Regions from separate parts of the Homo sapiens genome. Here region 2 is linked to region 1. Evidence: promoter capture Hi-C in 16 types of primary human blood cells and fetal thymus (Javierre and others, 2016). All regions are on one chromosome and are shown on one strand. The core of a region is centred on a gene start or on the middle of the fragment in contact, and the rest is flanking DNA. Distances in the headings are between cores, read along the strand shown.

Region 1 (2,500 bases), core at 1-2,500:
TGCCTGGTCACCGGGGAGGAACTTTACAACATCACTGAAGGTTTGAGAATAGTGCTTCTGGCTGGTCGCGGTAGTTCCTAAGCTGCCTTTGTTCCCACTTCTCTGATCCAGGTTAACTTTTAACATTCTGACAAACTCGGACAAAAGTAACGTTGGGATTACGTCAGGAATTCCCACCCTTCAACAAATATTTGTTGCGGGCCTACTATGTACTCAGTGCAATGATACCCAATTTTGTAGTCTCCTAAACAGATCCTACTCGAGAGGTCTTGATTATTTACAGATGCAGTTAGAAAAGCGCCCATATTATTTTTAATTGAGTTCAAGAAATAGAATGCAGCGTTGAATTAGAAGACTAATTCCTTCTTTTAATATGTTGAAAATTTTTTATCGTTAAACATTTTGTAAAGGATTTTTTGAGGGAGTCGTTAGAAAGTCTATAAATACAACTACGCACACTAAAAAGTAGTCATCTTTTTAAAAATAACTTTGTTTAAATGCATGCTTAGTGTGAATGGATTTACCTAATTCTCTTAATAGCATGCATTTCTGATCTTCCCTACATTAACTGTAATAGCAACTGATATAACAGAAAAATGTAAGTGACTTGTAGTCGACTTGGCCACCTGCCACACGGGCTCGGTGAAGGTTAATGAGGAGCTATTTGGCACTTCGAGAATAGGTGGCACTAGACACAGAAATATCAACAGGCTATTTGTATGCTAACTAGGAGTTTCGGTGCCAGGTAACCATTGATGTACTCTTGCAGGAGAAAGAAGGATGTCGCTGTACGCCCCGAAAGAGAGGCATCATTTTTACGCCCAGTTTGGATTAATGATTGATTGAGTCGCAGAAATGCTTGTGATGCTGATAGAGGCCAATACTGGTCTTTCTGATCTCTTCCTCGTCGTTTATTACCTTCTCTTGTGGACAACGCATTCCTAAGAATGTATCTCTGCTTGTTTCCCAGTCCGCGAGATAAATGGTGACTTCTCTCTTGCAGGCACCGTCATACCTCGGGTTTAGATTCTGGACAGGCGAGCCGGCTGCACCGAAGGCCCGGTAGGCGGACTCTGGCGGAGCGCTTCAGAGAGAAGAGTGTAGACCGCGGGAGGCGGAGGGCTCCCTGCCAGCGTGCCTCGGCCAATCAGTATTCACACCGCCTGACAACCGGCCAATCAGAGGACGTAAAGCTCCGGGGCCTGAGCGGACAGTACTAGGAAGGGGAGCGCAGTCTGCAGACTGAAGCCAGTGGCGCTGCGCTGAATGCAACTGCGCGCGCCCGCCGGGTGAGCCAGCGATCTGAGCCAGGCGGGGGCGGCCCGACCTTTCCCGCCCAGCCTGGGTCAGAGGAAGCCGAAAGCGGCCTCAGCAAGGTGAGGCGCCCGAGGCTGCAGAAGACCGAGCAGAACTTTGCAGAGTTCGGGATGTGCTGGGCTAGGTCGCTGAGGACTTGACTGGCTTCCTCCCTCCTTCCCTCCACCTACCTTCTCCCTCCCCCTCCACCATCCAGTGGGTTCGTTCCGGGCCTCCAGCTATCAGCTCCCGATCTCGTGTTTGAGGGTAGCGACCCCGATTTCTGTTTGCATGCACAGCCAGCAGCCCTAGCGCCAGATCCTAAAGCTGGATATCTTTTAACTGGGCTACCAGCCCGGGCCTCAAAGTTTTGGTGAGTGCTGTGATGCCGCTCGGGGTGTCAGGGAGGGCAAAGGGCGTGAATCATCTTTCACCTTTTCTGTGTGACTTGGATGCCTTACCTTAAATATATAAACCAAGGCCTAAGTACAGAGAGCCCACGCGGCTCAGCCCTGTGCACCTCAGGTACTATTAAGGCTGGACGGGCGTCTGTATTGTGCTCTTTGCCCTTATGGGACGCTAATGACAACAAAATTTTGGTTTTCAGTTGAGTATTTTGGGGAGGGGGGTGAGAGGACCTCTTCAAGCCCAAGGAGGGGTCCTTGTGGTGGTGTAGGCTGATGAGAGGCATTTGGGAAGCATAGAGTGGTACTTCAGTGAGTCTGAAGGGCCACTTGTAATCAAAGGAAAACTGTTCTTCCACGGATAGTTTTATATGCATCATGGCCATACTAGTTGAGTATGGGGAAATCCGACAAGTGGCCTGGGGCTGCCTATTTGGACACAATATTTTGTGTGTGTGTGATAAGTGAGTTACCCAGGGACTTGTCCGGAAAGCCCGTGTAAAGCCAGAGAGGGCCACGGTTAAAGGTCAGGTACTCACAGAGCACTTAGAATTAATAAAATAAAACCTTTGTTGGGTTGTGGATCCCTGGGGGCCCTGGAGATACAGGAAAGGCACGTGTGGCCTGGAAGTGAGGGACATGTAATGAGAACAGGATGACTCAAGCGGCCGGAGGCGGGCAGACCAGGAGCTTTGGGCCGGAGGCTCAGGGATGGTCCCTGACGGCGGCCGGTGGGTCTTTGGATTTCTTTGTGTTTCCCCAGAGTGAGGGCCGCCAGGCTCAGGCCCCAGCGAAGCCCC
Region 2 (2,978 bases), core at 291-2,790, 470 kb before region 1:
ATCAAGGATATATGGATTAATATTAATATATAAATATATAAATCCATTATATAGTAATATATATTAACATATACTTCCTTTATTAATATCCTGGATATATGAAATTAATATCTTGGATATATGAAAAGGTATTCCAGATCAATAAGATGAACACAGTAGTAGAAAAATAGAGAACATGAACAAGAGTGTAAAAAGGTGCGAAGTGTTCAACCCCAAAGATATGCTAATCAAAATTTAAAAATTAAATCTATACAATACAATTTAAAAAATAACATTACCCATTGTTAGAGGGGGTGTGGAGGAGTGGGTATTGTCATGTGCCACTGGGTCAAACATTGTGTAGGGCAAATTAACAATATCAGATCCTCACATTTTCTGTACATTTGACCTTGACCTTATCCCAGGCAAATACTTGATGGTATAGTGAAGGATATCTTTCTCAGCATTACATATATAATCAAAAATAAGAGGTGACTTAAGTGCTTCAAGGGAATTTATTAAAATGGATTATTGATCAGTCATTAAAAATGAAAGCATACAAGACTATTAAATGGTACAGAATTTCTATCAGAATAAGTGGGAAAAACAAGTTACAAGTAATATCATATGATTTACTTTTAGTGAAACTTACATGCACTTACACATTTGTGTATTATGTTTATGTGTCATGCATACATATAAAAGTGGAAGGCGGTTCAACAAAGTGCTAATTATCCTCATGATTTTTATTTTTTCTTTGATTTTTATGAACTTACAGTAAAGAACAAAGTACTACTTTGAAGGAAGAAAAATTATTTTTTAATAATTCAGCATAAATTACATAGGTTATCCAAAGATAGTAATATGGTATTTGATCTGAACCTAGACTTCTGTTCTGTTGATTTGACACATTTTGGTGTCTTTCCTTTTATGTTAAATAAGTAACTATCATTTACCTACAGCAGAAGAAGAATATAACTTAGCATTTGAGACTTGATAACATAGAGCTGTTGAATAGTTCTGTAAGATTTGTTAGGGAACCAAAACCAGGCATGTGAGGATGGTGCTGGAAGAGAAAAGGCGGGAAGGGTTTGCAGTCAACTGTCAGTTATCTTCAGCTTTCAGGCTCGCTGCACATGGACAGGTGAGGACCAAGGGAAGAAGAGCAAGCTTGGGTATTTGGTTGAGCTGTTAAGTTCAGGGTTAGAAAATGACCAGCACAAACCTTTTGGCTTGAGAGCCAAAGTTCTTGGCAGGAAGTCTCTGCTTGTTTCCGTTTGCCTTCCTCCCAGTTTCTCCTCAATGCCTTGCAGTCAGCATCCTGTATCTGCCATTTTGAAAACTGCCCTTAGGGGTCATGAGTGACCCCCTTCCTTATTGTTAAACCCAGTGACATTTTGTCCTTATCTGCAGCATTTGATGTGTTACTCAACTCTCTTTGGGCTTGTGTGCCTCTCCACCCTTGTGGTTATTCTCCTGCCTCTGTAACCACTCAGTGTCTTCTTCCATGTCCCTTGACCCTTCACTGTGTCTTCTACTGATTCCCCTTAGAACTTTCATTTACCCCTGGAGCTTCAACCATCATCTTCAGGTAAAACTCTAGCAACAAGTCATCTTTGCCCGCTGTGCATCATCCTTGCTGCCATTGAGAGTTTGGTCTTAAAATGGTACTTGCAATTAGAACACGTTCACTTTGTCACAAAATCTGACAGACATTGGACATACTTAGAATTCATATCTGGCTTCCTGAGACAGCTGTCAGATTGTCTACCAATGGTCTACCCATTGATGATGGAACAAGCTCCTTGTATCAGCCTCAAATAAAAATGATGGAATTAATAAAAGACGCTTACCTTAAGGCACAAAGGCCTATGAATTTCAAAAAGCATTGACAGAACCGATCCAAAAAATATGTAGTTTGTAAAAACTCTAATACAATCCACACTGAAGTAAAAAGCTTAACTTAGAATAATCCAAATAGTCTTTGTCAGCTGGACAGCTAATCTTGGTGAACATGGAAGAGTAGACAATAATGTTAAGGCATTGTGTGAGGGTTAAATTGTTTGCGAGGTCGGCATTGCTGGGGCTTCGGATTCAAACTGGGCCTTGAAAGAGGGGGTAAGAAAAGTCTATGGGGAACTGATGGGCACAAAGGCAGGGTGTAAGTGTTTGTTCTTGGGAAAATGATCAGACTAATCTGATTGAATAGAAGACGTTTATTGGAAATTAAAGGAAGATAAAGTAGTGATAGATAATGGAAGAACTGAAGGTCAACAGGGGAGTTTATATGTGATGGAAGAGAAAATCATTATCACTAGGGATGTAGATGTAAGAAAACGTTAGGTTTGGAAGTTATAAGACAAGAGAACTTCAAAGTTTGTGGGATTCTGTAAGGTGGGATGGGAATAAGCAATATTGTTGAGTACCTGCTGTGTGATCTGTAAGGCATAAGATGTCATTATTATTTTACAGCAAGCTTTGGAGTAGATGTACTAGTTCCCATTTTATGCATAGTGAGATGGAATTTTGAGCAGACATACTTGTCTAAGTTTGGCAGAGTGGCTGGACCAGGATTCATGCCCAGTGACATCTGACTTCAAAGCACAGTGAGGATGGAGAATGTTGAGACCAGTTCTTCATTTTACAGTCAAGGGGATGGGCCCAGGCCTATTCAAGGTTACAGGAATAGGATGAAAGCAATTTCTCTGTAAGAGAGAGTGGATAGGCTGTGATCTGCAGAGGGTCCAAGTTAGAGGCTCTTGTTATAAACAGATGAGGTATGCCAAGGAAGTTGGGTTCAGCAGTGTGATAGGAGTGAAAAAGAAGGGGTAGAGAGCAGCTGGACATTCGGGGAAAGTGGTGGTGACTGTTAGTGGAAGGTAATGACGAGAGAGATGACTTGAAAACAGTTCCGAGGTTTTAGTCCCAGGGAACTGCCATTAACAGTTTTAGGAGAAAAGCCATGTGTGTGTTATGGAGTGGTCTGAGTAAGTATGATA

The links. The method cuts DNA at HindIII sites, captures the fragments that hold promoters and counts their contacts. A CHiCAGO score of 5 or more calls a contact.
Region 2: a contact is called between a fragment that was not itself captured here and the fragment with the promoter of DMRT2 in region 1, in 1 of 17 cell types (monocytes). The highest score is 5.6, in monocytes.

Annotation. Positions count from the first base shown.
Region 1 is chr9:1,049,107-1,051,606 of GRCh38, forward strand. It overlaps DMRT2 (doublesex and mab-3 related transcription factor 2), which reads left to right and starts at 1,251. Exons shown (of 4, transcript NM_181872.6): 1 at 1,251-1,669; 2 at 2,464-2,500. RefSeq lists an enhancer at 1,023-1,892. The HindIII fragment of the contact is 13,820 bases long and covers 1-2,500 here.
Region 2 is chr9:583,657-586,634 of GRCh38, forward strand. The region is part of intron 1 of KANK1 (KN motif and ankyrin repeat domains 1); the gene reads left to right. Among named protein-coding and RNA genes, the nearest start is that of KANK1, 80 kb to the left of the region's middle. The HindIII fragment of the contact is 787 bases long and covers 1,148-1,934 here.